Linked DNA regions of Homo sapiens: regions 1, 3, 4, 5, 6 and 7 are each linked to region 2. Evidence: promoter capture Hi-C in 16 types of primary human blood cells and fetal thymus (Javierre and others, 2016). All regions are on one chromosome and are shown on one strand. The core of a region is centred on a gene start or on the middle of the fragment in contact, and the rest is flanking DNA. Distances in the headings are between cores, read along the strand shown. Region 1 overlaps LINC02074 (long intergenic non-protein coding RNA 2074). Region 2 holds the start of SDK2 (sidekick cell adhesion molecule 2). Region 3 has its middle 79 kb from the start of LINC02074. Region 4 has its middle 98 kb from the start of LINC02074. Region 5 overlaps LINC02074 (long intergenic non-protein coding RNA 2074). Region 6 has its middle 27 kb from the start of LINC02074. Region 7 has its middle 9.7 kb from the start of LINC02074.

Region 1 (2,997 bases), core at 178-2,677, 430 kb after region 2:
AGCACCACGAGGTGGGAATCAGGGCGGGGGACCATCTCGGAGTCTTCCCACCGTGCTTGCCAAAGGTCTGTGGGTGCTAGAAAGCCAAGCTACATGCACCCTGGCTTTGTAGAGGAGGCTCAAGCCCATATCATTGCACTATACTTTCTCCATGTTCTTCAAGGGTAGGCAGGGCGTGGGGGAAGGCAAAGAGGGAGAGAGAAAGAGAGAGACTTTTCTATAGAACAAAAAGATGCATTAAGCTCTTCCTGGCCAGGCTACACTGATGAGGCTGTTCCTGCAGGACACAGCCCAGAGCTAAGGCTGCCCCCAATATTAATGGTGTCCTCATTAAAGTCATGAGCAGGGCTATATTTTAATTGCCTGGCAGAGCCCTGAGCACCTAAAGGGGAGACTTGCCACATCCTCCTCATCATGACTATTAATAGGCTGGGAACATTCAGGGCTGCTCAAGCCCAGGGTTGGCAACCCCCACTCCCTCCAACACAAGCAGCTCAAGTCTTCTCCAGACCTTCTTTACACCAGCCCCACAGACCTGCAGTAACCAAGGGCAACACCTGGCCTTTTCCCCAAGGCTGGTATAGTGTGTGCCTGGAACTTGGTCTTCTGAGCATCTGGGAGACAAGGGTGAAAGACCCAACCCGTCACCACCCAACCTGCTCAAGGGAAGAGCCTCATCTCCTAGCCCTGTCTCCCTGGCAGCCAGCACAGTGCCTGGCAGGTGGGCCTCAGTGCATGAGATGAGTCAGTGGCTGCCCACAGGGGTCATCTATGCAGATGTGGTAGGATGCCCATGAGACCAAGTTTGAGCAGGGAAAATTAGTCTCCACCAGCTTCTGATTTCCCATCTATCTTTGGGTGAGGGGGATGTTTTCAAACTCTCTAATGGCCAGAAGACCAAGGCAGAGGGGAGAACACCTGAGATTAGCAGGCTGAGTGCTTTTGTAAATATTTACCTTCTTGGTGCCCCAGGGATGTAACCATACAAAATGTAACCCTCCCAGCACCCCCGGCTTCCAATTCAGACAGGGTAGAGATGCCATGCCTCAGTGTACCTCCAGGGTTGGAAGTGAACACCTGCCATTGTCCCACCCGCATTTCTTTCTCTAGAGATTGCCAGGTTTTGAAACATAAAAGCTTCTATGCAATCCCCTTCCAGCCATAGAGTGGCGCCATTTGCTCTTCAGCCTCCCTTCCAAGTAAAACTCTTGAGAGATTCCAGTGTGCATTGCTTTCTCCATTCTAGGGGTACCTATCATCAGTGGGTCCAAAGTGAGTTCTCTGGCTGCTTTCTTACTAAAGCAGGGATTAAAAAAAAAAAACATCTTAATATCAGGATCCATTCCACCTCTGACTATATACATGCATGTACATACAGCCTGACAGTCTGTGCCACATGAGTAGTCTAGAAGGCCACCTTTCCTTCCACGGCCTCCCTAGCTTGGACGGGCTGGTAACTGTATCATTCTTATTTGCAAGGCTGGACTAAATCTTGTAGGGCATGTTATCCAATGGCCACAGAGACCTCTTGACTCCTCCAACAGGAAAATGGGCAGCTCCTCCCCCTGAGAAGTCTTGGCCAAGCAGGGTCAGAGCCCCCACACCCTGCCCACCCACTCCCTACCCACTCCTCCCCAGTCACAGGTCTCCTTTCCTCCAAGTTCCAGCATGCCTCCTCCTGCCTCCCTAGGCCCAACTTTGCTGTGCTGGGAGCAAAGAAAGCTTTATTGAATTTTCGCGAGTACTTTGCATGGCATCTGATTTACAATTCATAACCTGGATTATACTGCGAGTTCAGCCTTCCGGGGTCGGTGTAATTTAGATCTTGGAAATATTTGCCGTGCTTTCAATTCCCCTGACATCTAAGGGATTGGAAATGGATTCTGCCCCTGGAGGTTTGCTATTTGGAGGGGCCGATGGAAGGGGGTACAGGGATGAAGACAGCTCACAAAGGGAAGGTGGGGAGCAGTGAGGCGTGAAAACTGAGGTAGGGAAAAGATAAAGTTAAACACCAGCAGGAGGGAATGATCACATGCATGAGACAGAGGGGCAGGGGAGGCCACGTGACCAGGCTCCCTACCACCTGCACGCGTCACCTCTGCTTGTGTGGTGATGGCCCTGGGGACAGGAGTGCTGCTGTCCAGGGGAAGTGCCTTGGCAGCGTGGAGCAACCCACCTTCCCATCCCACCTTCTGGTCCTGCCTCTTTCCCTACCTGGCTGTAAGAGGGGCAAATCCCCTAGACTTTTTCTTTAACCAGTCTTATATAATTCACATACCATACAATTTGCCACTTAAAGCGTGCAATTCAGTCCAGGCATGGTGGCTCACACCTGTAATCCCAGCACTTTGGGAGGCCGAGGTGGGCAGATCACTTGAGGTCAGGAGTTCGAGACCAGTTGGCCAACATGGCGAAACCCCATCTCTACTAAAAATGTACAAAAATTACCCGGGCATGGAGGTGGGCACCTGTAATCCCAGCTATTCAGGAGGCTGAGGCAGGAGAACCGCTTGAACCCAGGAGGCGAAGGTTGCAGTGAGCAGAGATTGCACCACTGCACTCCAGCCTGGGCGACAGAGTGAGACTCCATTTCAAAAATAAATAAATAAAAATAAAATTTGCGATTCAATGGCTTTTAGTGTATTTACAAAGTTGTACACACATCACCATGATCAATTTTCGAACATTTTCATTACCCCAAATAAATACCCTGCACCCCTTGGCCATCACCCCTGTACTAGTTTCCTGGGGCAATTGTAACAGATTAATTATAAACTCAGTGCCTTTAAATAACAGAACTTGGTCCTCTGTCTGTTGTGGAGGCCAGAGTCTGAAATCAAGGTGTGGTCCGGGCCGCGGTCCCTCCAAAGACTCCAGGAGAGAGTCCTTCCTTGCCTCTTCCAGCTCCTGGGGGCTCCAGGCACTCCTTGGCTTGGGGCTGCATCGCTCCAACCTGTGCCTCTGTCTTCACTCGGCCTTCTCCCCTGTGCCTCTGAG
Region 2 (2,780 bases), core at 111-2,610:
CCAAAGTCGAGGAACCGCCGGTGCAGCCGCCCTTCACCTCGGGGACCTGCCCGGGGACCAGGGGGACGTCTGGGCATCCACCCTCAGGAAGCGGGCAGCGCAGATCACACCTCGGATCCTTCGTAGCACTCCCAAACCCAAAGCCACCAGCCCTTCTCCACCGCGAGGCTGCTCCCGGCAGCCACAGGTCACAGCAGCGAGCGGCTGCACAGACTATCGAGCGAACAGCGGAGGCTGGAGGCAGGGGCGGGGATGCTGGGTGTGGGTGGATGGGTAGGAGGGGAGGCCTCAGACCCTCCCTGTGCACCACCCCCCGGTGGGTCCGCGGCTGCACCCGCGACCTTGGCTCCAGGCCCGCGCAGCGAAGCACCCCCAGCCCCAGCGGCTGGCCGAGCAGCCAGGGGCGGGCTCCCGTACGTGGCCAAGCCGGGCAATTGCTCTCCCCGGGCGAGCAACCCGGCATCCAGCGCTCGCCCACCCCACTCCCTCGCCCCGGGGAGGCCATCGCCTGCCCGGCAGGGGCCCTGCCCTTCCCCGCAGACACCGAGCAGGGAACCAGGAGCTCGGTCTGGGAAGCTCAGCGTAGCCGAGCGTGGAGCCCGGCACGGAATGTCGCTCCCCTCCCAAGCCGGCGCAGGGCAGCCACAGCAGACGGGGGGAGGGGAGCGCCCCTCCCACTTCACCTTGGGCTCTTCTCTGCCTCCCCAGGTCGTCCCCACCTTCCCCCATTCGGAAGCCACAAGTCTCGGAGAGACTGCCCCACCCCCAAAAGAGCCCCAAAACTTGGGAGATGGGGTGTCTTGAAACTCCCTGGAGAGGGCTCTGCCACGGCTAAGCCGGGTGTCCAGGAGGTCACCGTGAGGCCGGCCAGCTCCCGCCGCCCCTCCCCCGCCCACTCTCCCAGCCCCCTCCCTGTCCCCACGTGGGGGTCCCTCCTTACCTTGGGCTCTGGCCGCGCGGATCTGATGCAGAGCTAGCAGTGTCCAGATCAAAAGCCCCCACATGGTGACCAGCCTGGAGAGGGGTCCTCGGGGTCTCCCTTCCCTCCGCCCTGTTTTATAATCCTGGTGGGGTCCGATACCCCGTGGCTTAGTCCCAGGAAACAGTCAGTCTACGCGGCTCCGTGCCCCGGGGTGTAATATGCCCGGGAGGGGCAGCGCTTGGCTACCCCAACCCTTCCTCCTCTTCTGTACTAGTCCGAGCCCGGCAGCGCGCCCGGAAGGCGAGGGGCGAGCAGGGAGAAAGAGGCCAGGCCGCCCTCTCGGACTAGGGCGCCTCTCTCCCTTAGCACCCCAACTCCGACTTCTCCCAAACAGGGCGGCCTCTGCGATCCGGCCGGGTCGCCGGCCGAGCTCCGGAATAAATGGACAACTTCAGGAAACTTCCTCCCGTGGCCACGTTGCCCGCCCCCTCCCCGCCCCCTGGTTGGGTTCTCCCGGCCGACGCAGTCACCGCCGTTCCAGGCGCCGGGCCCCCGGGACCCGGCCAGAGCCGAGCGCAGTGGCAGACGCGGGTGCGGGGGTTCTTTTAGGGGCGCCGGTTTCGGGGGACGCGGTGAGCATAGCGGTCCGAATCTCCCTGGAGCTGAAGTTTTCTTCTCTCTAACTTTGCAGGCAGCATCTGGCGGGGCCGAACCACCCCCTCTGGGCTCCACCGCCCTCGCGCCGAATCGGGAGACGCCGGGTCTCCTCCGGGGGCGCTGGGGCCGGGCGCGCCCTCGGCTCCGCGCCCAGCCGGCTAGCAAACTTTGCGGGTCCCGGAGCCGGGCGCGCAGCCCTGAGCGCCCATGTCCGCGCCAGCCGCGGGGCGGCGGGGGAGGGTGCTGGGCTTCGCGACGCGGGCTGTCGCCGGCGCCCGGGCGCAGAGCCTCCTGCCGGCCCGAGGATGGAGACCGGCGGCTCTGCCCTCCGCCGCGCCCCGGCCGGAGCTCTCGGGAAGACGCACGGAGAGCCCGGCGGGCAGCCCCGGCTCCGGGGACGCGGCGCCCCTTCGGACGCCCGGCGATCGCCGACCTCCCGGGCCGGAGGAGCAACGGCCGCCCCAGCGCCTCGGCCGCCGCTGCCGCTCGCCGAGCCCGCCGCCCTCCGCTTCCCGGGCTCGGCGTCCAGAGAGCCGCTCCTGCCTGCGCCGAGCCGGAGCTGCGGGGGCAGCGTGAGCCGGGGACGAGCGCGGCGGAGGCGGAGACGCGGAGAGGGGGGCCGAGCGCTACCCCGTGGCCGCGACTGGAGAGCAGCCTGCGCGCCGGGAGGGGCGGCGGCGGCGGCGGCGGCCCCGAGCCAGGCCCGGGAGCGAGCCCCGCAGAAATACAATCCGACTGCGCGGCCGCGGGCGCCCAGCGGCTCTGGGACCCGCAGGGGGGCAGCAGTGCCAACCTTCTGCCGCGCCGGGAGAGATGCGCGCGAGCCCCTCCGCTCTCTGCCCAGCCTTTCCTTCCAGCCTCGCTCGCGCCCCTGTCTCAAAGGCCTCATAGGACTCCCAGAGTCTCCTATAGTCGGGAGCCCCCAGCCCCCTTCCGGACATGGAGTGATTGGTGGGGAGGCGGCGGTTGGGAAAAGGGGGTCGGTCAACCGATTGATTCCAGTTTCCCCTTCCCAAGTCAGGCTCTCCAAGGTCTGGAAATGCTCAGGGCGGAGGGGGAGACATCGGGAGGCCTGGGACCTGCAGAAGCCTGAGAAAGTGAAGTTGGTGCCAAGGAGCGTGCGTTCTTTGTTTCTTCTTTTTTCCTTCGGAGCCCAGCTTGTAAAGAGTAGAAGAACCGGACATTGGTGGAGGAATTCAAA
Region 3 (2,990 bases), core at 406-2,905, 390 kb after region 2:
TTTTGAAGAAAAGCTGGGTAAACTAGGGTAAGGCCAGTGAAGCATTTGCCTCCAAATTTAAGGGGGCGCCCCCCTAAAACTCAGCATATTTGCCAGGTTTGTCTCCCCGGCAGATGCACTTGCCAGGGTCCTCAATTTTAGACTCCCAGGGAATCCCTGCTAAAGCAACACCTTCCCAGAGGCCCAGGTGAGAACTAAGTTTTAAGCAGCTTTGAGGAAGGAGAGTAAGCCAGATGGGGAGAGAGAGGAAGTCAGGGAAAGGAAAGGAAGCGAAGAGGGCTAATGCTCGCTTAGTACCTGCCCTGCCAGGCCAGGTTCTTTGCACACCCCCAAGGAAGACATATTTGCCCCCATTTACAGGGTCAACTCAGTTTCCCCACCTGTGCAGAATGGGCCTGAGAAAAAAAAATCCATGATAAACAAAATGTCCAAATGTTAAATAAAGACCAGACCCAGCCCTGCCCTCGGCCTCCCGCCTCTCACTCTAGTCCTAGCCCTATGGTACCCTGTCTTTATTTTAAAATTTGCATATTTTTTTCGTTGTGGATTGAGGAGCTTTGAATTTTGATTTTAATATTGTATATCTTGATTACCTAGTTTTTAAAAAATCCCCCTCCCAAATCTAGTGCCCAAGGGGAATGCCTTACTCACCCAACCCTTGGTCCTGTTTGGAAGCCATACAGGGTAGTGAAAAATGAACATTAAGAATCAGACACAAAACCAAGTCCAGCTTTGCCATGACACCTAGCCAAGCCTCAATTCCTCCTCCATAAAAATGGGCTACTAGTGCCACTGCAGGCTGATGGTGAGACGGTTAACAAATGCTGACCTTGGCACGGAGCCTGGCATAGAGCAGAGGCTCAGTAACATGGCAGCTCCCTCCTCTGCCCAGTCCTTCCACACCCCAGACCCCCACTGCAAAGGCAACTATCAGTCAGGGACCCACAGAGCCCACCCAAGCTGGGTGGGGACCACCAGCTTCTCAAAAATCCTTCCCGGGTCTGTCTTTGGCAAAGGGAGAAATGAACTGCAGATTCAGGGTGAGAAGGGAAAACTGATAATTGCAGCTGTGTCAAACCAATTTGTTTGTGTTAACTGCCGCCAATTAAACTTCTTTTCTTTCTTTTTTTAAGTTTTAAGTTACCCCAGGTCAGGCTATCTTAGGGAAGTGGATTTCTGGCCAGACGGTAAGAAATGCTTTTATCTACTCTCACCTGAGGTGGAAGGAGAAAAATAAATTTCAGAGACACTCAGGAGCAATGAAAAGATAGAAAAGAGCTGGGGAGGATATGTCAGAGAGAAATGAGTGACTAGGACAGCATGACAAGCCCAGTCCCCATGAGCAGAGGGGAAGAGAGACCCAGGCCACCTTCGGCTGGCTGGCTACTCAGTGTGTGGTCCATGGAAGAGCTGCACGGGCATCACCTGGGGAGCTTGTAAGAAATGCAGCATCTCACGCCCCACCCCAAGCCCCTCAGTCAGAATCTGAATTTTAGCAAGACTCCTGGGGGGATTTGTATCCACAGTACAGGTTTGAGAGATGCTGGTCTATCCCACTCTGAGACCCACCCATCCTGTATTGATCTTCCCCAGGCACCAACGGTGGAGGCTCCTTAGGGCATGGAGTCTTCTGGGTCACCCCACCCATTTCTAAAGCATCTGGCCATTCACCAAGAAAGGTCCTCTCAATGGTTCCATATCTTCTGATGCAACTCCATTCCCCAGCAGATCAGTCCTCCACTCACCGCTCTGCTGGGGCTTCAGGAACTGTCCTGTGGTGTCTGGTTGGATCCAGCCGATGGGAGGCAGGAAGAGAGAAATGCTGGGGAATGTATTCCTGACTCTCTCCCTAAAGGGCTTCAAACTGAAGCCCCTTCAATTGCTCTGCTCTTCTCCTTCTGCTCACATCTGCTGGGCACCCCCCTCCAAGGCTAAGCTCTATGCTGAGCTCTATTAACCTGGCTCCCTCCTCTTGCCTGGTCAGGCCTAAGAGGCACAGCGGCTTCCTGGCTACTGTTTAGCAGATGCATCTGATGGGAATAACTTGATCACACCTCAAGAATGAGCCCGTATGGCAGGTGCACCTGAATGCACGCTCTGAATTCCGAGCTAAGGAATCCATGAGGGGCCAACCCAGAGAGTCATTCCTTATCTATGAGGAACATCTGAGCCCCCAGCCAGTCTGTGGAACACAGGCCATACAGGGGATCAAGGCCCATGGTTTTGGGTTAAGTGAAGGTGCCCAGGTGGAGATGGTTAGGGGAGGGTGCTAAGTAAAAATGCCATGTAAACTGCATGCTTTTGTAACCAGTGATGGTTCTCCCACCCAGCCCACAGCCACGGAGCTGTGCTTCATCCTGTTGGGCTCACTGCCGCTGAACCCTCCCCTGCATGTAAGCCCCCAGCAAAGCCCCATGTCTCATCTGCTGGCTCTGGGTCTCTTCTTTGGTCTCCTGAACCTGGTGCCATCCCCATTGGAATTAATAGGGATTCAGCACAACAGCTACTCCCTGGATGTCTCATTCTCCTCGTTTCCCTCAGCCCTGCTGTCGAATGGGTTTTACTACTTAGGTGCTGCAAGGTCAACCGATCAGCAGACAACTGCCATTGAAAAGGCTGTCTATGGTACTCACAGGGGCCACACGGAAAGGCAACAGGCTTGGTTTTGAGACAGAGGAAGGCGACAACCATGGGCAAGAGCCTTCACTGTGGTTCCTTGGGATGAAATGAGCAAGGCACAGTGGGCAGGTGTAGCATTGGTGAGTGTGAGTAATTTCAGCGGACTCTGAGGCATCGGAGCCATCCCTAGATGTCTGGCACCCAGCCCTGGGGTGTTTAGTGCAGGCAGATGTGGTCAGAGTGTGAGAGCCCAGCAAGGGATGGAATTGAGGGCGTAGACTCTGGATCAGTTGGTTTGTATTTGAAAGGTTCATATACTGCCTCCCAAGAAGATTCCTCCCGAGGAAGTGGGTGCGGGAGGGAAAGAGGAA
Region 4 (2,959 bases), core at 406-2,905, 370 kb after region 2:
GTAGCCTTATTCCTGGAATGTAGCCATTACTCAAAACACCTTATTTTGAAATGTTCCTTTTGAAACTCCCTTTAGAGTGAGTTCGTGAGAAATGTTTTATAGCACAAAGCCATAACCTTGGCTGTGTGTGTAGGGGGAGGGGGCGAAGGCGAAGGTCGGGGTGAGGGTGGTTCTGGTGTCAGAACTCTGAAATTGTTTGGGCTGGAGCAGTTTCCAAATGGTGACTGACTGACCACCACCACCCCCAAAACAAATCTGACCCCAAAGAAACAGCTTTCTTACCTTAGAGAATGTTCAGAGGATCTGTCTGGGCTGCTTCTTCAAGGTAATTCCAAGAGGTTGCTGCAGAAATGATTTCAGCTACAGCAGGACAACTGAGCATGATAGTGGCATTACAGAGTGGTCACTACAAAAAGGAAAGAGATTATACTCTCTTGAAAGAGCACGCACACACATATAAAGTTAGGGCACACCTTCAGAGATTGGCCCCAGTCATCTGCCTCTATTAAATCAGTCATTTATTCAGCCTTGTAGATAAGCATGGGCTTATCTCCCCTGCAATCGGGGCTCAGGGAAGGGTGGGAGGCAGAAGGAAGAAATAGAATGACTCATTAATATCACTTGGCCTAATATGCTGGGACTGAGAAGTTAAATGAGAGAACTATGGGATTGAAAGGTAGACTAGACAGTTTTCTGCCCACTATTATTTAGGAGACACTGCGGCAAGTTGAGAGTGAGCTGGTTTTCATTCCTGGCTAATGAACGCATACGATCTAAGAAAGGGGCGGCTGGCTGGAAAAAGGGGATGAGAGCCTTTTCCCATTCTCCTTTGTCAGGCAAGAGCCGAGGAAGTTAGGGGTGCACCTGGCTGGGAGGAGGAGAAGAACCCGAATGGACATCTCTCTGTTTTGCTCTGGAGAGAATGAAGACATCCTCACTCTAGGAACAGGGAAATCAACCTATGGGCAGAACCAGCTTCTGCCTCTGGTTGCAGCCATTGTCTGGCCCCTGCAGACAACTTCCTGAAGTATCAGAATGCTTGCCGACCACAGAGAATGACACTTTCTGGAGCCTGCACCACGAGCATCTGGGTCTTGGGGACAGGCAAAGCCCCTACTGCCCATTGTGGAAACCAATGCAAAAGGAGAAGCCCTGTTTCCTCAGATGAAGGTTCCCTCAGTCCAAGGGGCATGGCTTGCCTGGAGAGGGAGGGCCCAGGATCGATCCCATCACAACATGTCCAGCCTGACCTGTAGTACTTCTTACTTGGTAGCTCAGGGCTACAAAGGTGAATGTACCAAGAAACCCAGGCAGACGTTGTCTGGCTTTGCTGACCTAGCCTCAGAAGCCCCATCATGTTACTTCTGCCATGATCTTCGGTAGGAGAAGCAGCCACAAGTCCACCAGATTGAAGCAGGAAGAACAGATGCATCTTATCTACAGAAAATATCTGTGCTCATCCTCACTGCAGGAGCACTGGCTGTGACCACTCAGAGACTGGATCTCAGAAGCAACATGACCTCCTTGGACATCAGGACATTGGGAAGGGTGTTCAGGACCTCAGGCCTCTACTTTTTAGTGTTTCTGGATTTTGAAATAAAAATGAGGACACCCAGAAAATATTTGGATTTCACATAAATAGCAAATAGCTTATTTAATATAAATATATCCCAACCATCCTATGGGACACACTTATACTAAAAATGACTCATTGTTTATCTGAAATTTCAGTTTAACTTGGTGTCCTGCATTTTATCCGGCGATCCTCTGATGTTTTCCCTCCACAACACATCCTCTCTACCCTCTCCTGTTCCCTACAACTACAGGGGGTGGGGTGGAAAAGATAATTGTTCAAGATCCTGAAGTGCATTTCTGTGCCAGCCTTGGAGAGATATAAAGGATGATGTGGCCCCAGTAACTACTGCTGCATAACAAACTACCCTAAAACTTAGTGGCTTACATCAACCATTTTATTATGCTTAGAGATGCTGCAGAAATTTAGACAGGGCACTGCAGGAATGACTTATCTCTGCTCCACAATGTCTGGAGCTTCAGCTGGGAAGACTCAATGGCTGGAGATAACTCCTGGAGGCTGGAATCATCTGGAGGCATGGTCATCACCTGTCTGGCGGTTGGTGCTGACTGTGGGCTGCGACCTCGGCTGGACTCTGCAGGAGCATGTGCATGTAGCCTCTTCATGTGACCTGAGCTTCCTTACATCATGGCAGCCTCTGGGTTGTTGAACTTCTTACTTGGTAGCTCAGGGCTGCAAAGGTGAGTGTCCCAACAGACCCAGGCAGATGTTATCTGGTTTTTCCGACCTAGCCTCAGAAGCCCCATCGTGTTACTTCCACCATGATCTACTGGTAGGAGAAGCAGTCACAAGTCCACCAGATTGAAGGGGGGTGAACAGATGCACCTTCTCCACAACAAGAGCGCCAAAGAATCTGTGGGCTTGTTTTACAACCACTGGAGGTGGAGAAAGTGGAAGGAACTTGCGGTGAGGGAGGGGCTCACAGTGAGACTGTGGAGGTAGAAAATTTCTGATGACAACGAAGGAGCCTGGAGAGGTTGGCAGGAGTGGAGCTGAAGGTCAGAGAGGTTGGAAATTTGGGAATCATGAGCCCTGGGTGCAAGGAGGACCCGGAGGGGCTAGAGCTGAAGTCACTGGAGATGGTAGTTTGCAGAGGAAACCGCTGTGGAAGAGGGAGGAGAGACAGCACCGAGGGAGTAGGAGCCATCAGGAAACATCAGAAGCGCTCATGTGCCATGCACAGCTCACACTGCGCTTTATCAAAATCGGCGTCTGTCACCAAAATTGCGTTCGACTGACACCATCTGCATCGATCCTGCTCACAGTCCCCCAGGCTCCCTCTCCACTCCCACCCATCTGCACACGCTGAGTCTCTGCATCCCCCGTCTCCGCTGGAGAACAGAAACATCTGCCTGCAGCAAAGCC
Region 5 (2,767 bases), core at 106-2,605, 450 kb after region 2:
CCACTCTTAATTTTTGCCTTCCATAAGGCCCTCAGGCATGGACATAATTCAGCCAAGTTCTATGCAACTTTATAACAAGGATAGCTTTTACTCCAGTTCCCAATACCTTCTTCCCCATTTCCATCTCAGACTTCATCAGAATGGCCTCTACCATCCATATGTCTACCAACATTCAGATCACAACCACTTAAGTAATCTCTAAGAAGTTTCAGACTTTACCTACATTTCTTCTCTTTTTCTGAGCCCTCTGCAGAATCACTCTTTACTACTCCATTCGTGGCAATCTAGACTTTTTCTAACCGGCTTCTCTAGATGCTTCCAGCCTCTACTCATTACCCAGTTCCAAATCTGCTTCCATAGTTTCAAGTATTTGTTATAAAAAATAGTCCCACTTCTCAGTACCAATTTCCTGTCTTAGTCCATTTTGTGTTGCTACAACAGAAAACAACAGCCTGGGAAATTTATAAACAATAGAAGTTTATTTGACTCATGATTCTGGAGGCCAAAAAGTTTAAGAGCATGATGCCGGCATCTTGTGAGGACCTTCTTGCTGTTATCATTCCATGGTAGTTGGTGGTAGAGCAAGAGAGCGCACATGAGCAAAACCAAGAGAGAAACAGAGACAAACGTACCCTTTTTTAATCAGCATCCCACTCTTGTGATAATGCCATTAATTCATTCATGAGAGCAGAGCCTTCATGACCTAATTACCTCTTAAACGTCCTGTTTCTCAACAGTTTCACATTGGGGATTATGTTTCTAATGCATGAATTTTGAGGCACACAAACCATAGCAGACCTAGGCCTTTCATGGGAGGGAATACAAACTAGAGGCAGACATAAAGCTGTGTCCATTAAAGAGGTGAAATACATTATGTGCATTCTACTCACTGGGTAACCAGCAACATACTGGACCTGAGTATAAGAAGAAACATAAAAATTGTGTATCTTGTAATTCCAGGCTTTGAGCTGTTTTCAGTCTGACTGATGAGACAAGGTTTGTGCCAGTGAAACAAGTAGAGATTAATTCAAGACAGATGTGATCACCAGTCTCTGCTGGCATAAATCAAGTTTCATAAATGACTGAACTAGCATTTGAACCAACATTTCTTCTTATTTTCATCCCAGTAGCATCATCCTAATCTGGTGACCTTAAAGGCTTTTAAAAATCTGGTTATTACTAGAAAAATGTTGCCTCCATCTAAAAGTTGCAATAAAGCTTTCTTTCCCTGAGAAAAATCTAGCCAGCCCTTTGTGTAGGTTGACTATAGCGGGCATGTGCCCAGCATCATTTTCCTGATGGTTCATTCTCCCTCACCCAATACTGAGCCTTCTCCAATCTAGGGAAGTGGTAAGTCCATGATCCAATAAAAAACATTCCATCTACATGACACAGTGGTCAGTTAAAAGACTCAAGTTGGTCCAATAAAAATCCTTCCCTAGAATTAACTTAAATACACTAAAAGACAAAATTTACTTTCCAATTGAGGTTGATAAGCTTGGAAAATATGAATTAGGGCTACTTGTGGCCATGTTTCTCACCACACAGAGAGATTATTTCCCAGAATGAAGCCAAACAAGATAGCAGGCAGAGGAGCAACAGTTTTTCATCCTCAGTCTCATCCCTGAAGGCAGGTTCCTACTGCTGTCCCAGAATCCCTCAAAGCTCCTGGACTAATACATTCCCCATTTGCTTGAGCCGATTAAGTTGGATATCTATCACTTGCAAATAAGTGAGTCCTGACTAATATGTTGGCTTCACAGTGCCATGCCCAGTGCATCTTATCTGCACATCTCCATTTTCCTGCAGAAAAACGACCATTGGATGGAAAGGGCTGTGAAGCTCTCCTTTAAAGTACACATTCCTGGGCTTAACCCCAGACTTACTGATGCAGAATCTCTGGGGATAAGACCCAGGTATTTGTGTAATGCTACCAGTGATTCTGTTGCACACACAGTGCCAAGTTTGCAGCATGGGATCACCACATCTCATTGGCTGATTCCTGGAGTCTAACTCCCCTGGAAAATTTTGCTCTGGCCAGGTATCACACTTTAAGATGAATACTAAAGGGTGCTATGGTTTTAATGTGTCCCCCAAAGTTTATGTGTTTGAATCTTAGTCCCCAATGCAACAGGGTTGGGAGGTGGGACATTTAAGAATGGATTAGGTCATAAGGGCTCTGCCCTCATGAATGGATTAATGTTATTATCCCAGGAAAAGGTTAGTTATTGTGAGAGTGGACTTGTTATAAAAGTGAATTCGACCCCCGCTTGCCCTCTTCCTTCCTCACACTCTCTTGCCTTTTCACCTTCTGCCATGGGATGATGCAGCTTAGATGCTCTCACTAGATGCGGGCCCCATGACCTTGGACTCGCCAGCCTCCAGAACTGTAAGAAATAAAATTATTTTCTTTCTCAATTACCCATCTGTGGTATTCTGTGATAGCAACACAAAACGGACTAAGACAGAGAGCATGACCAGGAGAAAACCAGGTCAGTGAGGGCACTCGCGCTGTTCTTCCTCTGATGTGTTTTTTCAGAAATCAGGGTGTTTAACAGCAAATCCACAAGGGATATTCTGTCTTCAACGGTGTGAAAACTGTCATGTGGAAGAATAACAGATTGACTTTGTGGTGTTCCAGAGGACAGGCCTTCAACCAAGGGCATCCTGGTGCCAGATTTCAGCTAAATAAAGGGAAGAACTTTCTGGCAATTAGAGCTGCCCCATGGTAGAAGTGCTGCCACAGAAAGTAGTGAGCTGCCTGGCT
Region 6 (3,061 bases), core at 257-2,756, 500 kb after region 2:
ACGATTTTTCCACGGACAGTGTGGGGGATGATTTCAGGATGATTCAACTGCATTACATTTATTGTACATTTTATTTCTATTATATTACATTGTAATATATAATGAAATAATTATACAATTCATCATGATGTAGAATCAGTGGGATCCCTGAGCTTGTTTTCCTGCAACTAGATGGTCCCATCTGGGGGTGATGGGAGACAGTGATAGATCATCAGGCATTAGATTCTCACAGGGAGCGTGCAACCTAGATCCCTCACATGCACAGTTCACAATAGGGTTGATGCTCCTATGAGAACCTAATGCTGCCATTGATAGGAAGTGGAGTTCAGGTGGTAATGTGAGCAATGGTAAGCAGCTGTAAATACAGATGAAGCTTCACTTGCTGGACCACTGCTTACCTCCTACTGTGCAGCCCCATTCCTAACAGGCCACAGACCAGTACCAGTCTGTGGCTCAAGGGTTGGGGACCCCTGGGCTAGACACTATGAAAGAAAACAAGAACATGATGAATAGAGAAATGAAATATATGTAAAATCCCCAAAATATCTTTCAGACACACCAAAAATGCAATATCCAAAAGAAAAAGTAAAAATGCATTTGAGGGGACTAACAGCAGATTAGATACTACAGAAGATCACTGATCTTGAAAGTGGAGCAATACGTCCTATCTAAAATTGAGCACAGATAGAAAAAGAATAGAAAAAAAAGAGAACAACCAGAAAATAAGTGACCTGCAGAACAGTATTAATGTTCTAACCTATGTGTAATTGAAACTCCAAAAAATATATATATTTGCAGATATAATAATTGGCCAGGTGTCATGGCTCATGCCTGTAATCCCAACACTTTGGGAGGTTGAGGTGGGTGGATCACTTGAGGTCAGGAGTTCAAGACCAGCCTGGCCAACATGGTGAAACTCTGTCTCTACTAAAAATATAAAAAATTATCTGAGCACGGTGGTGCATGTCTGTAATCCCAGTTACTCAGGAGGCTGAGATAGGAGAATTGCTTGAACCCAGGAGGCCTCTGTGAGCTGAGATTGCACCACTGCACTCCAGCCTGGGTGACAGAGAGAGACTCCATCTAAAAAAAAAAAGAGAGAGAGAGAGAATAATCAAATTGTTTACAAATTGGATGAAAATGATAAACCCACAGATCCAGAAGCTCAGTAAACCCCAAACAGAATAAACATTAAAACACACACACACACCAAGGGGAAAAGACACATTTTGAAGAGGATTAAAGATAAGAATGACAGCAGACTCTTCAACAATTGTGCAAACCAGAAGACAGTGGAATGACATCTTTAAAGAAGGGAAAGAAAATAACTGTCAAACTAGTAATCTTTAGTTAGTGAAAATATATTTCAAAAGTAAAAGTAAAAAAAAAAGACTTTTTCAGACATACAAAAGCTGAGAGAACTCCTCACCAGCAGTTCTGAACTTTAAGAAATGTAATAGGAAGATATTCAGGCAGAAGGAAAGGGATATCAGATGGAAATCTGAATCTATACAAAGGAAGAATGTCAGAAATGGTTAATATGTGGATATCTATAATATCCATTTTTCAATCTCTTCAAAAGATAACTAGCTGCTTAAATCCACATAATAGTTCTACTTCTGGCCAAGATGGAGTAACAGAAAATGGATTTACTCTAAAATGCTAAATGGTACGACTGCTTTGGAAAGTTAAGAGGTTGGCCGGGCACGGTGGCTCACGCCTGTAATCCCAGCACTTTGGGAGGCCAAGGTGGGCGGATCACCTGAGGTCAGGAGTTCGAGACTAGCCTGACCAGCATGGTGAAACCCCATCTCTACTAAAAACACAAAATTAGCCAGGTATGGTGGTACATGCCTGTAATCCCACCTATTCGGGAGGCTGAGGCAGGAGAATTGCTTTAACCCAGGAGGCAGAGGTTGCAGTGAGCCAAGATTGTGCCATTGCACTACAGCCTGGGCAACAAGAGCAAAAAACTCCATCTCAAAAAAAAAAAAAAAAAAAAAAAAAAAGGTCAAACACATGCTCACAATATGACCCAGTGATTCTAATATCTTTTTCTACCAGATATAAAAGCATATGTCCACACAAAGACTTGTACATGAATGTCCGTAAGAGCTTTATTTATAATAGCCTCAAATTAGAAACAACCCAAATACCCATCAACAAGAGAATGGATAAACCATTTGTGGTGCAAAATGGGATTCTACACAGCAATAAAATGAACAAACTACTGATACATACAATAACATGGGTAAATTCAAAAGCATTATTCGTAGTGAAAGAGGCCAGACACAGAAGACTACAAGCTGCATAATTTATTTATGTGAAATTCTAGAAAAGGCAAAACTGTAGTGACAGAAAACAAACCAGTGGTTGGCATAGCAGTTGGAGTGGATTGACTAAAACAGCCACAAGGGAATTTTCTGGGGCGATGAGAATATTCTATACTTTGGATGTTGTGGTGGACCCATGAGTAACAACGTTAGTCAAAACCCAGTGAATCATAGACTGAAAATGGGTGAATTTTGTTGTATACAACTTGTATTTCAATAAAGTCATTTTTTAAAAACTGTGGGATGTCACCAAAGCAGTGATTGTTGAAAGATTTGTACCTTTAAATGCCCTTATTAGAAAAGAAGAAAGCTTTAAAAATCGAATATCTAGGTTTCTACTTTCGGAAGCTAGAAAAAGAAGAGAAAATTGAAACCAAGTAAGCAAAAGAAAGTAAATAAGAGAGAGGCTGGGCATGGTGGCTCATGCCTGTAATCCCAGCACTTTGAGAGTCTGAGGTGGATGGATCACCTGAGGTCAAGAGTTTGCCTGACCAACATGGTGAAACCCAGTCTCTACTAAAAATGTAAAATTAGTCGGACATGGTGGTGCATGCCTGTAATCCCAACTACTCAGGAGGCTGAGGCACGAGAATCGCTTTGCATGAGAATTGGAGGTTGCAGTGAGCCATTGCATTCCAGCCTGGAAAACAGAGCAAGACTCTATCTCAAAAAAAAAAAAAAAAAGAAAAGAAAAGAAACTAGATAAGAGCAGTAGTAAATGAAATAGA
Region 7 (2,872 bases), core at 132-2,631, 480 kb after region 2:
CGCACAGCAAAGCCATCGCCGTGCAACCTCACAGCAAAGGCAAGCCAACATCAGAGCGCAGAAGAGGGAGTAGGGAAGTGGAGAAAGCTTCCATAAAAAGAGAAACCTTTGCTCCTGATGGCTTTTAATATCACCTATATGTTAATAACTCTCAAATTTATATTTCAGCCTGAACTGCTTCCCTGAATTTCAGACTTGTAGACCTGACTGCCTACTTCCTTCTGCTTGTATGTTTCATGCAGATCTGTATTTGTTATCTTGCTGGCTAACAAATGACCCCAAAACTTAGCAGCTTAAAACGACTGGCATTTATGATCTCACAGGGTTTCTGAGGGTCAAGAATCCAAAAGAGGCTCAGCAGGGTGGTTCTGGTCTGGAGTCTCTCATGAGACTGCAGTTGAGATGTTGACCAGGGCTGCAGTCATCTGAAGGCTGGACTGGGGCTGGAGGATCTGCTTCCAAGATGATGTATTCATGTGGCTGCTGGCTGGAGACTTCAGGTTCTTCCCACACACCCTCTCCATAGGGCTGCTCATCATATCACAGCTGGCTTCCCCCAGAGCAAATAACCCAAGAAAGAAAGGGAGACAGAGAATGAGACAGGCAGGGGGTACAGTCTTTTACAACCTAATCTAAATACTGGCATAACATCACTTCTGTCACATTTTATTGGTCACACTGACCAACTCTGGTACAGTGTGGGAGGGGACTACACACAGGTGTGAATACCAAGAGGTGGGGCCTGGCCAGTTGTAGTGGCTCACACCTGTAATCCCAACACTTTGGGAAGCCAAGGTGGTCAGATCACTCGAGCCCAGGAGTTTGAGACAAGGCTGGGCAACATGGTGAGACTGCATCTCTACAGAAAAATATTTTTTTAAATGTATCTGGATATGGTGGTGCATGCCTATAGTCCCAGCTACTCAGGAGGCTAAGGAGGAGGATCACTTAAGCCCAGCAGGTTAAGGTTGCAGTGAGCCATGATCACACCACTGCACCCCAGCCTGAGTGATGGAGTGAGACTCTATCTCAAAAAAAAAAAAAAGAAAATGGTTATGGTCACTGGGGTCATATTGAAGGCTGGTGACCACAGGATCTTAAACTTAACATGCCCGAAATGGAACTCCCAAAGTTTCTGCCTTCGTGCACAAAGCCATCTGCACTGTCTTCCTCATCTCAGTGAGAATGGCAAATCCATCTTTCCAGCTGCTCAGGCCAAACACTTGGAGACATCCTTAACTCCTTCCCTTCCATCCACTTACATCTAATCCTTCAGCAAATCCTGGTAGCTGTCCCTTTAAAATATATTGGAATTCTGACCACTTTCCACCACCCTCATTGCTGCCATCCTGATTTAAGGCACCTGCCTTATCATCTCTCACCTGGATGATTGCAATGGCCTCCCCAGCAGTCTCCCTGCTTCCATCTTTGAGCCCCCTGCAGTCATAGTGATCCTGTTAAAATGCATTACTCCTCTGCTTGAAACCCTCTCATGAGGGCAGAAAATCCTCACAGGGCCCTTCACCGTCTGACCCCACCACCACCATCCTAATCTCACATCCTATGACTGCCCTGCACCCTCCATCCGGCCCCCCTGGATATTGCTAGCATACTCCTGCCTCTGACCCTTTGCACTTGCTCTTCCCTCTGTCTAGAAAGCTGTTCCCACCACTATGCCCGGCTAATTTTTTGTATTTTTAGTAGAGACGGGGTTTAACCGTGTTAGCCAGGATAGTCTCAATCTCTTGACCTTGTGATCCACCCGCCTCGGCCTCCCAAAGTGCTGGGATTACAGGCGTGAGCCACCGCGCCCGCCCTGTAGTCCCAGCTACTCAGGAGGCTGAGGCAGGAGAATGGCGTGAACCCGGGAGGCGGAGTTTGCAGTGAGCCGAGATCACACCACTGCACTCCAGCCTGGGCGACAGAGCAAGACTCCGTCTCAAAAAAAAAAAAAAAAAAAAACAAAGAAAGAAAAAAGAAAAGAAAAGAAAGCTGTTCCTCCAGGCATCCACTTGGCTGGCTCCTCATTGCCTTCAAGTCTTTATGCAGTGCCCCCTGCTTGGAAGGCCTTCCCCGACCACCCTATTTATAAACTTCCTATTCCCTTCTTTGCCTTTGTTCTTCTTCTTAGCATGTTTCACCACCTCCAAACCATCTATTTTATTTGTTTTTCTTACTTGTCTGTCTCCCCCACAGATCGTAAGCTCCATGAAGATCCCTGTCTGTTTTTTCACTACTCTATTCATAGCATCTAGAATTGTGGCTGACTCATTCAGGATGCTAAAAAATATTTGTTGAATCACCAGAAGGAGGGAACATGAAGAAAAGTATTTCAGTTATCTACCACTTCATACCCATCCACCTTAACTAGGATGCCTAAAACAACAACAATCATGTATTTGGCTCCTGAATATGCAATTTGGGCAGAGTCTGGGAAGACAGCTGATCTCTGCTCACATGACATAGGCTGGGGAAGCTCAAAGGCAGGGGTGACCCAACAGTGGGGGCTGGAGTCATCTCAAAGCCATCACTGCTCTCTGGTGGTTGTTACTGGCTGTCACCTCTGACCTCAGCTGGGTTCATCAGCCAGAACCCTACCCTGGCCTCTTCATGTGCTGTTGGCTTCCTCACAATACGGTGAGTTCTAAGAGCACTGCCCCGAGAGGCAAGTAGGGCAAGCTTCCCATTTCTGAAGGCCTTGTCCCAGAAACAAATGCAGTGTCATTGCCACCATTTTCTACCGATGAAGTGGTCACAGAGCCTGGATTCCAGGGGAAGAGACATAGACTCCACCTTCCAATGGAGAAGCAACAAAGAATTGTAGGGCCATGTTTTTAAGACCACCACATAAAGGAAGAGAAAGAAAACCTTT

The links. Contacts are between HindIII fragments. The CHiCAGO score rates a contact against its expected background, and 5 or more counts as called.
Region 1: a fragment that was not itself captured here is called in contact with the fragment with the promoter of SDK2 in region 2 in 1 of 17 cell types (M1 macrophages); the score reaches 5.7 in M1 macrophages.
Region 3: a fragment that was not itself captured here is called in contact with the fragment with the promoter of SDK2 in region 2 in 2 of 17 cell types (M2 macrophages and M0 macrophages); the score reaches 6.3 in M2 macrophages.
Region 4: a contact is called between a fragment that was not itself captured here and the fragment with the promoter of SDK2 in region 2, in 4 of 17 cell types (M1 macrophages, M2 macrophages, monocytes and 1 more). The highest score is 7.9, in M1 macrophages.
Region 5: a fragment that was not itself captured here is called in contact with the fragment with the promoter of SDK2 in region 2 in 2 of 17 cell types (M0 macrophages and M2 macrophages); the score reaches 5.6 in M0 macrophages.
Region 6: a contact is called between a fragment that was not itself captured here and the fragment with the promoter of SDK2 in region 2, in 2 of 17 cell types (M1 macrophages and M2 macrophages). The highest score is 5.8, in M1 macrophages.
Region 7: a contact is called between a fragment that was not itself captured here and the fragment with the promoter of SDK2 in region 2, in 2 of 17 cell types (M1 macrophages and M0 macrophages). The highest score is 5.8, in M1 macrophages.

What each region holds. Positions count from the first base shown.
Region 1 is chr17:74,069,402-74,072,398 of GRCh38, forward strand. The region is part of intron 4 of LINC02074 (long intergenic non-protein coding RNA 2074); the gene reads right to left. Among named protein-coding and RNA genes, the nearest start is that of LINC02074, 42 kb to the right of the region's middle. The HindIII fragment of the contact is 585 bases long and covers 1,136-1,720 here.
Region 2 is chr17:73,643,085-73,645,864 of GRCh38, forward strand. It overlaps SDK2 (sidekick cell adhesion molecule 2), which reads right to left and starts at 1,361. Exons shown (of 45, transcript NM_001144952.2): 1 at 941-1,361. The coding sequence starts at 1,004. It overlaps LOC124904054 (a long non-coding RNA gene), which reads left to right and starts at 2,390. Exons shown (of 2, transcript XR_007065893.1): 1 at 2,390-2,610; 2 at 2,737-2,780. The HindIII fragment of the contact is 5,171 bases long and covers 1-2,780 here.
Region 3 is chr17:74,032,874-74,035,863 of GRCh38, forward strand. No RefSeq gene overlaps it. Among named protein-coding and RNA genes, the nearest start is that of LINC02074, 79 kb to the right of the region's middle. The HindIII fragment of the contact is 3,996 bases long and covers 1-2,990 here.
Region 4 is chr17:74,013,328-74,016,286 of GRCh38, forward strand. No RefSeq gene overlaps it. Among named protein-coding and RNA genes, the nearest start is that of LINC02074, 98 kb to the right of the region's middle. The HindIII fragment of the contact is 6,027 bases long and covers 1-2,959 here.
Region 5 is chr17:74,093,838-74,096,604 of GRCh38, forward strand. All of the region lies in intron 3 of LINC02074 (long intergenic non-protein coding RNA 2074), which reads right to left. Among named protein-coding and RNA genes, the nearest start is that of LINC02074, 18 kb to the right of the region's middle. The HindIII fragment of the contact is 279 bases long and covers 1,217-1,495 here.
Region 6 is chr17:74,138,092-74,141,152 of GRCh38, forward strand. No RefSeq gene overlaps it. Among named protein-coding and RNA genes, the nearest start is that of LINC02074, 27 kb to the left of the region's middle. The HindIII fragment of the contact is 2,270 bases long and covers 372-2,641 here.
Region 7 is chr17:74,121,135-74,124,006 of GRCh38, forward strand. No RefSeq gene overlaps it. Among named protein-coding and RNA genes, the nearest start is that of LINC02074, 9.7 kb to the left of the region's middle. The HindIII fragment of the contact is 2,592 bases long and covers 86-2,677 here.